Regions from separate parts of the Homo sapiens genome. Here region 2 is linked to region 1. The links are contacts of gene promoters, found by promoter capture Hi-C in blood cells and fetal thymus (Javierre and others, 2016). All regions are on one chromosome and are shown on one strand. Each heading gives the region's core, a stretch centred on a gene start or on the middle of the fragment in contact. The rest is flanking DNA. Distances are from core to core; before and after follow the strand shown.

Region 1 (5,426 bases), core at 1,957-4,456:
GGCCGATGCTTATATTTCATATTGAAGGGACACACCTCAACACATTTACTTTTGGAAACTGTTAAGCAGATAGAGGGAACGCTGAAAAAATTTCTACCAGAGATATACCAAGAGGTGGGTATTTTTTAAAAAGCAGCTTAAACTAGGTTAGTTAAACATCGGCTTCTAAAAGATCAAAGCTGGATTTCCTCATGGAACAGAACACTCCCAGTTCTCTGAGGTCAGTGGGCAGAGGCTGTAGTTATAGCTGGTTGGCTTCATCTGATGCATTTTTCTTTTCCTTAAACTCAGGATTTGTCCTGCTCCGTAATTGTAATCTCTTTGCCTGGCCTTTGCTTTCGTCTGTGAAGCTGCCACTAGGTAGGTTTTAAGTAGGGAGTAGTATCGTGTAGGTCTAAATAAAAACTAAATAGTTTCATTCTCTTTTTTCCCCATATAGAACAGTTCTGTCAATTGGAGCAGGCAAAAATAACAATGAACATTTTTGAGACTTTTCTCAAAAATTCATCTTGAGAATGTATTTTCAGAAAATCATGAAGTTTGAATTATTATCCGAATAAAAAAATGATGGCCTCTTCAGAGCGGGGTGTTTTTTCTAGTTAAGAGATTACAATGATATTCCCACATCAGGCTTTTGGTGGCTAGCTTGACATCTGTCTTTGGAAGTAAAATGATTGGCAGCATTCTCAGTTTATGTAAAAGTTTGCATAGAGACATAGCAGAAAGAACTTGGGTTTTTGGAGTTAGATTTGAGAATACTAGATAGTATACTTATTAGTTTTGTGATAGTAAATTCATCTGACTCTATTTTTATAAAATGGTGATTGCGATGAACTAAAATCACAAATGTGAAATAGCAAATTCTCAACAAAAAGGCCCTCCTGTTTTTTGATTTTAGGTGATTTCCTTTTAACACCTGATTAAAGACAAAGGTTGACTTGATTTAGGATGAGAAGGATTTATTATATTTATTAACAAAGAGGTAAAGCTTTTTTCTTTCTTTCTTTTCTTTCTTTTTTTTTTTTTTTTTGAGGCAGAGTCTCACTCTGTTGCCCAGTCCAGAGTGCAGTGGCGCTATCTCGGCTCACTGCAACCTCTGCTTCCCGGGTTCTAAGTGATTCTTCTGCCTCAGCCTCCCGAGTAGCTGGGATTACAGGCGCTCGCCACCACATTTGGCTAATTTTGTATTTTTAGTGGAGACTGGGTTTCACCATATTGGGGCCAGGCTGGTCTGGAACTCCTGACCTCAGGTGATCCACCAGCCTCGGCCTCCCAAAGTACTGAGATTACGGGCATGAGGCACCGCACCAGCCAGAAGTAAAGCTTCTTAAGGTAATCCCATGAAATGGGAAAAGGAAACCTTGAAGAGAAGCGTGGGTGGCTATCACCAATATGGTATTTGGGGCAGTTCTCATAATTGTTTATCAATGCTGCAGAATAGCAGTATTCATCTTTCTCTTTTTTTTTTTTGAGACGGAGTCTCCCTCTGTCGCCCAGGCTGGAGTGCAGTGGCGCAAACTCGGCTCACTGCAAGCTCTGCCTTCCCGGTTCACGCCATTCTCCTGCTTCAGCCTCCGGAGTAGCTGGAACTACAGGCACGTGCCACCACGGCCGGCTAATTTTTTTTGTATTTTTAGTAGAGACGGGGTTTCACCGTGTTAGGCAGGATGGTCTCGAACTCCTGACCTTGTGATCCGCCCGCCTCGGCTTCCCAAAGTGCTGGGATTACAGGCGTGAGCCACCGTGCCCGGCCTTCATCTTTCTCTTTCACTATCCTTTAAATGACTGACCTATGTGTAGTGTATAAAAAATATATATTTTTAAATACAGGAAGCAGCAACACTCAGTATGAGAGGATAATTTGCGTGCTAAGAGTAAATGGGGAAGCAAACAGTAAATAGAGGCAAATGGGCAAAGGTTGAGTCATAGGGAACCTGGACTTGCCTCAAGTATTTGTGGTTGGTAGTAGTTCATTACGTGGGCTTGGGCACCAGGTGGGGCCCCCTCAAGTCAAGCAAACGTCAAGACCAGTTTCGCACCCTTGTTCCTCTAGCTCCGGACCAGCCAGAGCCACCTACTCGGATCATGTTGGCAGAACCCAGTACTGTTTCGAGGCCAGATGCACCATTTCAGCAATTCAGGAGGAAATAAGCAGTGTGGATAAACTGATACCCATTTTTGAAAGTCGGCCTGGGTTCGCATTCAGAAGAAATGTCGACGCTAGCCATTTTTTTTTTAAAATGGGTGATTTGATAACTCAGGGAAGTCTTGCCACTGTAATTTTTAAAAGTTTGCTTGCTAGAACCAGGTACTTTCTAAGAAGTGTATGGAAAAAGCCTTGATTCTTCTTCGCCCTGGGTGGTTTTTACGTCGAACACCTAGAAGTGCTTCTGGAAATCCCCCCGCAGGACTTTCGATGTCTTTTAGGGCATTCTTAAGACTAGACCCATTCCTAAGCGACTCCCACCTCCCAAACCAGCCATATGGTTTAGTTTCTCCAGTTTCCAATTTTCTAAATCTTCAACGTCTCCCCTCGAATTAGTCCAATCAAACTTTCTCTTCTTAGACCTCTTCCTTAGGTTCGCACCAGGAAACGCCCAGGAGAATCACGTGGCCGGGCTTGTCCTTAATGGCGCTCCGTAACCCTCCCACTATTCCACCACACTTCCTCGCCTCCCGTGAGCTCCGCCCCGCCCCATTCGCGCTTCCCACCCCCATCCCCCGCGAAGCGCCTGCGCCTGCGCAGCTCCAATTCAGGCGCTTTCCCTTTCCTGGCGACCAATCCACTTCCTGCCTCGGGTCCTCGGAACACTCCACCCCTCCGCTGGGGCCCTGGTTTGAGGTGCTGGTAGTGGCTACCTTACGTATTGCCAGTCTGAAAAATTCGCTCTTCTCATCGACTGGGGAATTTGAAAGAGCTGTTAAGTGAATGGCACTCATATGAGCCTTTGCCCCGGACCCGCCACCCCAGAGTCAAGCTGAGGGCATCGGCATGCCGCAGGGAAGACGATCAGGACTGTTTTTAATCGGGCAGTCGCGCGGATGGCCTTTTCCCTCTCGCCTCCTTCCGCCCCGCCCCCACTCTCAGCCCGGCCGCGCTGGTGAGTGGCGGGCGGGAGGGCTGGCGGGCGGAGGGAGGAGGGGGAGCTGAGGGAAGGCGGGCCCTCGGCTGCGAGATAGGTGGGGGGAGGGGAGGGGAGAGCCCGAGCGCTGGAGTTGGTGCTGGGAAACCCGGGGCTAATGTTGACAACAGGCTCGAGGTGAGTCCCGGGGATCCTCCTTCCCCTCCGCTCCAACGATCGGGAGGAAATGGGGCTGGGGGGCACCGGCCTAGACTCCTACTCCCTGGGGGACCCCAGAGGCGACTCCACACTCCAGCTCTCCGGGGTCGGCGAGCAGTGGAGGGACCGCGGGTCCGGCGTCGTTCTCCTCAGACCCCCTGTCTCCGAGGCTCCCATCAACGCGGGAGCCCCCGGGCCGGGCCATGCTTGGGGGGCGGTGGAGGAGGTGCCTGCCCCACATGCCTGGGCCGGGCCTCGAGACTGGAGGCGGGGAGCCCGCGGTGGAGGGGCGAAAGTGTTCGGGGGCGTGGAGGAGAGCGAGGGGAGGTCGGGGGAAGCTCCTCGAGAGCCGGGAGGGAAGCGAGGGCGAGAAAGTGGGGAGGGCGCGTGTGTGGGAGGCTGCGGAGTGGGGAGACCGGCCGGGAAGGCTTCTGTGGCGAGGGAGTGTGGGGCGAGAAGTTGGGGTTGGGGCAGCGATGGTCCGCGAAGGTGACCGTGGATACCTGTGGGAAGGGGAGTTGTGTCGGGGAAGTGTGGTGGGTTTAGAGGTTCCTACACCACCAGAGCAGGGGTTTGTAGGAGAGGTATGTGTAGGGGAAGGGGCTTGGGGTGTATCTGGGGATGGTGGGCATGGGCTGTTTGGTTGACTTCCTTTTAATCACATAGGCTGGTTGATTCTTCACTTTACCTTCACCTCTTCAAGGCGCCAAGCACTCTCTTCTTGCTAGGACTGTTGGACTAAGGAAGTGATCACAGGATATTTGGTCCCCAGGTTGGCAGAGCAGAGCCAGCTGGGTCCACGCTGGGGTGATCGGACCTTCAGCTCTCTTGCTCATCTTAGAGGACTTACACGACACGAAACGATGCATCAGATCAAAGTGAAACCCTCGCTGACGCTTTATCTCATTTCCATAGTTCTTAGGTGTTCCTTAACATCGTCAGTCTCCTCATTTGTGAGCTGGTACAATTTCTAACAGTTCTTAATACGTCCTTTATACTAAGGATGTTCTTTAAAAAATAAAGTCAGAAACTGGGAGATAGTGTTCCTGTGCTGTTCTGTCCTGACAGCATTTTGAATAAGAGAATTGAAAGGTAAAACCGCATTCTCTCATACTGGAGTGTTTTCGGAGCACTCTGATTGGGATTTCATACATAATCCATATGGTACTTTGCAAGGGAATGTCTTTAAAAGGGAAACACCCCCTTTTGTGCCCTCTTCCCCCCAATACACTCCATTGGTACTTCTAGTAAATTAGTTTTACTTTCTTTTGGAAGTTCAGAATGTATTTAGAATACCAAATAAAATATACAGTTCAAGTGACAGGACACTATTTTGGGAGCTAGGAAGGTGGTTTTAAAGCATGGTTTCCTTTTAAGGGTAGTCTGAATATAATTGTATTCAGCAAACTAATTTGTAACAGCTAATCGGATTCCAGTGAAAAGATCACGACTTTTTCTCCTCACTATCTTGAGAAAGGACCTATTTAAAATTGTATTTGGACTTGAAAAACTTTTGGAAACACTTTAGATGAAAAGTTTGGCTGTTAAAGCTTGAAGTTATTGAAATAAGAATTTTAGCATTTTATTAAATATCACTTAGTGCTCAGTTTTTTAAGTCGACATAAAACAAACGTGTATTGAGGTGAATCACGGTGTTTGTATATTTTATTCGTTTTAGTGTAGGTAGTGAAAAAGCACTGGGTAGTGAGTGTTGGTCCAGCCACGGAAACTAGCTGTATATATAATCTTGGGTAGGTGACTCTGCTGCTATCCTTGGAATGTAAAAATTGAGGATAGAAGTAGATAAAATCTAATAGTCTTTATCTGACTTTACAAATCTTTCATTGTATGCTGAACTTCTCAGTGTTCTTTGTGACAGAACATTTATTAATGCCTCCCTCATGCTAGTTACTATGCTAGAATTTTAAGAACTCTACAAGATAGATAGCAGTATATCCATCTTATTGATAAATAAGTGGACTCAGAGAAGTTGTTGCCTGATTTCTGTAGCTATCAGGCTGCAGAGTTGGGATGCAGATTTAAAATCAGTCCGACTTCCAAGCCCATGTATGTTGTTTTCACAAGTTGCATTGCTGCCTCTTCATGAACTTCTAGATTTTTGTCTTTTTTTTTTGTTTACGGAAA
Region 2 (5,010 bases), core at 114-2,613, 1.1 Mb before region 1:
TGTATTTCATGGCCAGAATACTTATGCGCCTCTACCTAAGTAAGGGCGGGGGTTCGGCAGGACATAATACAGTGTCCAGTTGCCCTCGAGAATAAAGTTTGGTTTTCCGGGGGTGGGTGGGGGGGTGGGGGGGTGGAGGTTAGGTTAGTTATATTCCTAGCATAATATGCAACCTAAAGGTTAGTTTATAAAAAAAGAAGCTGTTACTTTTATTGTGTTGTACGTAATATATAAAGAACGCCTAAAATTGGCCCAGTGGAAAAACAGATGAATTATGCCAGGACTTAAATCAATGATCGTCCTCTGTCTACAGGTCACATTTAAACTTGCCTTGTCCACTCCAGGGCAATCCCTGGCCTTGGGGTCTGCCCTGGGACTTCTCCAGCCCCCGCCCCAAAACTGGGCCTGTCCTGGGAGGCAGCCTGGCACCACTAACTCTTCTCTCCCTGGGTCAAAAGAGCAAGGTGGGTTCTTCTGTTCACACAGCCTGCACCTTGCTAACCAGATCCAAAGGCTTCTGAGGTCCTCACATTGCCTTACTTTTCTATGCTTTCATTTTCCATTTCATCCTTACAAACAGTTCCTTGGTGTACATTTCCATACAACAGTTTTCCTGCTGGTGGAGGCCAGGTCGGAACCTGGGTTTCATTTTCTTTGAGCGATGTTTACTTCCTGTAGCTTATGCATTTCGATGGCAAAAACAATTCCTTTGGGGTTCTCGGCCTCATCAAATATTCTCTCTATATAGAGTGTACACACTCTCCTAGACACAGCAGTCTATGTGGATTCCCACCGACCCTGGGCACCTCATTCAGCTCGGGTAGTGGTCCCATGTCTCCCACAGGCGTGTCTGTAACCACCTCCTTATGGCGAGGAACTGGCTGCGGAATCCTTCCCAGCCTGCGGGAGGACGTCACCTCCAAGTCTCTGGGTGACTTGTAGAGGGGTTACCTGCGGCCAAGAGGCCGGCCCTGGACCCTTCTTGGGCCCACCCTGTGTTCACTACCCACCCTCTCCCACCAGGTCAGGACCCGCCGAGGCTTGGGGATCCTCCCAGGGCAGCCGTCTCGCGGGAGGGCCGCCCCACCCCTCGCCACCCTCACCCCGACAGGCTCCGGGCCGCGGGGCAGGGCGGCGGGTACCGTTTTCAGGCCGCGGAAGCGCCCGCCGGGAAGGAGCCGCCGCCCCCTCGCCCACCGCTGCAGCCCCCTGCCCTGGCTCACCTGCCGCCCGGCTTGGCTTCGCTCAGGGTCACTGTTTCCTCGGCATCGTGCCGCCTGGAGAGAACTCCCGACCGGGATGGGACGCTGACCAGGGAACCTGCCGGCGGGCGGCGGCGGTGGCGGAGGGGGCAGCCGGGACTGGGGTGCCTAGGGCTGATGCGCGGCCTGGCGACCCCGCCCAGCGCGGCTCAGCTGACAGCCAGCCGCTCCCTGCCCGCGCCGGGGAATTTCCCGGGCCCCGCCCATCCCATACCCCGCCCATCCCCCCCACCCTGCCCATTCCATACCCCACCCGACCAAGGCCCCGCCCCTCCTCTTTCCTGCGTCCGCCCCCAGCTACCCACCCTCGCTGTCCGTGCGGGGTCGAGGCTGGGACCCGGGTGAACAGGGACTGCTCTAAGGCGTCACTGTGACGGCGTTAATCAAAATAAATCATTAATCAAATGCAGTGTGCGGAGTTCGTCTTCCCCGTGTCTTCCCGCAGATCCCGTAGTGGAGGCTGGAGCCGCAGGGGGTCGCTGCCGCCCACAGAAAGAGGAGAATGCCAGGCATCCTCGGAGGGAGGCCTCCATCTGTGTTTTTTGAAAAAAGGTTAACATCTAGACATAGTTAACTGAGCATACATAGCTTTCCACTCGTTTTTGCTTTAAAATACACTCAAAAAGCAGAAAGCCTGCAGGATGCTTCTTGGGCTCTTGTTGCGGACGAATAGGCTCGGCTATTCTTGTTGCTGAAGAATAGCCTCTGCTGGTGTGGAGGAGGGAAGCTGCCCCCGGATTAGACAGCAGGATGACAAGGTAGGAGCGAGAGCCGCCCTATGTGCATCCAGAGTACCCGGGTAGCGCTGCAGGGATGGGAGGGAGGGAAGGAGGGAGGGGGAGAGAGAGAGAGAGGGAGGGACGGAGAGAGGGAGAGAGGGAGGGAGAGAGGGAGGGAGGGAGAGAGGGAGAGAAAAAAAACAAAACAACAACAACAAAACCTAATCTGAAACAGGAAAAAGGCAGATGCGCCCTCTCCTGGTATCTCCGAAGGATTCTGCTTCGCTGTCTGGACCTCCTGCTGCCTGGCCAAGCCTGACTCTCAACCCTGCCCCTGAGGCTAACCCCAAGAGCAGGGCAGAGAAGCAAGCAAGTCAGCGACTGCCCCAGACCCAATTCCGGGCCCTCGAGTTGGTGTGGTGTAGGAGGGGCAGATGAGGCTAGAGGCTGCTTTATAAGGAGTGAGCCTGGGGGTGGGAGTGGGGAGAAATAGAGAATTTAAAAAAATTCTTTTTATATCAGTGCAGGAGGGCCAGGCGCGGTGGCTCACGCCTGTAATCCCAGCACTTTGGGAGGCCAAGGCAGGCAGATCGCAAGGTCCGGAGTTCGAGACCAGCCTGGCCAATATGGTGAAAGCCTGTCTCTACTAAAAATACAAAAATTAGCCGGGCATGATGGTACTCTCCTGTAGTCCCAGCTACTCGGGAGGCTAAGGCAGAAGAATCGCTTGAACCCGGGAGGCAGAGCTTGCAGCGAGCCGAGATCATGCCACTGCACTCCAGCCTGGGTGACAGAGTGAGACTCCGTCTCAAAAAAAAAAAAAAAAAAAAAAAATCAGTGCAGGAAATAACTGATCATTCATGAAAAGGGCTTGGAAAAATATATACAGAGAGAAATGGAATGACGATCTCTAATTTTTGTTTATCTACTGGGATAATCCAGGCAGAAAAGACGGTGTCACAGCTGTACCCTGGGATCGGCAGAAAAGGGTCCCCCCGGGGCCTGTAAGGGGTGCCTGCGGTAAGTCGTACTTCACTAGGCTCCTTTTACTGTTTAAAACCCTATAGGTGGGGCACGGTGGCTCACACCTGTAATCCCAGCACTTTGGGAGGTCAAGGCAGGAGGATCGCTTGAGCCCAGGAGGGAGAGGCTGCAATGAGCTGTGATTGCAGCACTGCACTCCAGCTTGGGTGAGAGGGAGACTTTGTCTCAAGCAAAAACAAAAACGAGAACAAAACAACACTATGAAAGTGAATTAAAATGAGCATCAGTGAAACTCAGAGCCAAGAGAAGAAGGTCACCCACAAGCTGCCCATGGCTTTGGTGTGGGAGGCTCGAGGTGAGTTTCTGGTACAGAAAGCAGTCAAAGTTGTTTTCTCCTGATTCCTTGCTCTCAGTGGTGGGGTCGGGGTGGGGGGTGCCCTGAAGCACTGCACACACACATGCACACACACTCCCCCGACAACCACTTCTTAGCTGTAGGACCTTGACCAAGTTACTTCATCTTACCCTTCCTCATTCCCTTTATCTGTAAAATGGGGAGTATAGTACACTCCCAAATCCAGAAAGTTCTAAGGACCAAACCTCTTTTCTGACCAGACCCAACTGATGGAAAGCTATTTACAGTCTTTATTTAGATCCCTTGATGTGATTTTTAAATTTGTTTTGTGAAGGAAAATCGAATAGTTGATAGGAGAACTGCGTCAGACAGTGTCAGGGTGTTATGTGATATAAATCCCATTTATTGAATAGCCTTTTGAAAATCCCCAGAATTCTGGACTCTAAAGCAGAGCTTGCCCCAAAGGTTTTATTTTATTTTTTGAGGTGGAGTCTCACTCTGTTGCCCAGGCTGGAGTGCAGTGGCATAATCTCAGCTCACTGCAATCTCCACCTCCTGGGTTTGAGTGATTCTCCTGCCTCAGCCTCCCAAGTGGCTGGGATTACAGGCGTGTGCCACCACACCAAGCTAATTTTTGCATTTTTCGTATTGATGAGGTTTCGCCATGTTGACCAGCCTGGTATTGAACTCCTGACCTCGGGTGATCCACCTGCCTCGGCCTTCCAAAGTGCTGGGATTACATGTGTGAGCCACGGTGCCCAGCCACCCAAAAATTTTAGATAAGGCCTCTGGACCCACAGCCCTCACCTAAGGATGCTGAGAAGATTAAAGAGGAAATACGTCTTCAACACCTAGAAGAACGCCTGGCTCATGGTGTTTGTTGCTGTTGCTTGTGTTAGAGCCGGTTCTGTTTCTTAGCCTGGATCATCCCGTTTGGTGACTCCATCTTCCTGCACACTTCCATGGGTAGATGGAATCTAAATGCAGCGAAAAAACTGAAATAATAGCATGCTCTTAGCTGATTTGTTGATGTGGTTTTGTGGTGGGTAAATGTAGAGCAGTGTGGGAAGGTTTTTAGTGAGATCCTAATCTGGGTTTGATGTTCCTTGTGTTCCCTTTCCACCCCAATCTCCTCTGTTTGGAGTTAGCAACGAGTCCCTTTGGGCTTCCTACCTTCAGGAGCGTTGGCTGGACTCCTGGCAACAGCTCTTAGAAGTACAGCCTTTCTTCTTGTCTTTTGAGAAAGCCTGATCTCAATACATCCATGATCTACCCCAGATGTCCTGGAGGAAGAGCCAGAGCTGGGTGGGGTGGAGGCTTTCACAACAGTTGGAGGGAGGAGTGACTCCCCCGCCCCCAGATTGGGAGGAGGAGTGGGATGGTGGTCTTATGAGCATCAAGGACTCAAGCCTCAGTCCCTGCAGCACCCAGACAGACAGCAAGCTCTTGGGATGCACCTACTGGACTTTGGGAACCTCCCGCAGATTCTGCTGCCCAGGCTTGTCATTGGAAACAGCAGAGACTGTTCCCTAGAAGAACCATTTGATAATGAGGGTATCAGTGGCAATGTTGCTGGGCTGAAAAATAAATGGCCCTTACTTCAATGGGTACCAAAAGCCCTCCTGGAGTTTTGCATGGCCGTAGGGAAGGAGACCTCCCCTCTCCAGACCCCAGTGGTGCCCGAAAATAG

The links. Contacts are between HindIII fragments. The CHiCAGO score rates a contact against its expected background, and 5 or more counts as called.
Region 2: a contact is called between the fragment with the promoter of OPTN here and the fragment with the promoter of UPF2 in region 1, in 1 of 17 cell types (erythroblasts). The highest score is 6.1, in erythroblasts.

The regions. Positions count from the first base shown.
Region 1 is chr10:12,040,589-12,046,014 of GRCh38, reverse strand. UPF2 (UPF2 regulator of nonsense mediated mRNA decay) reads left to right here and starts at 3,206. Exons shown (of 22, transcript NM_015542.4): 1 at 3,206-3,260. LOC105376416 (a long non-coding RNA gene) reads left to right here. Exons shown (of 3, transcript XR_930666.2): 1 at 1-114; 2 at 292-360; 3 at 2,054-2,216. RefSeq lists enhancers at 2,789-3,038, 4,209-4,298 and silencers at 3,479-3,618, 3,639-3,688. The HindIII fragment of the contact is 3,508 bases long and covers 1,326-4,833 here.
Region 2 is chr10:13,096,516-13,101,525 of GRCh38, reverse strand. OPTN (optineurin) reads right to left here and starts at 1,363. Exons shown (of 15, transcript NM_001008212.2): 1 at 1,224-1,363. It also overlaps a transcript of CCDC3 not described here. RefSeq lists an enhancer at 578-707 and silencers at 988-1,557, 2,028-2,087. The HindIII fragment of the contact is 12,315 bases long and covers 1-5,010 here.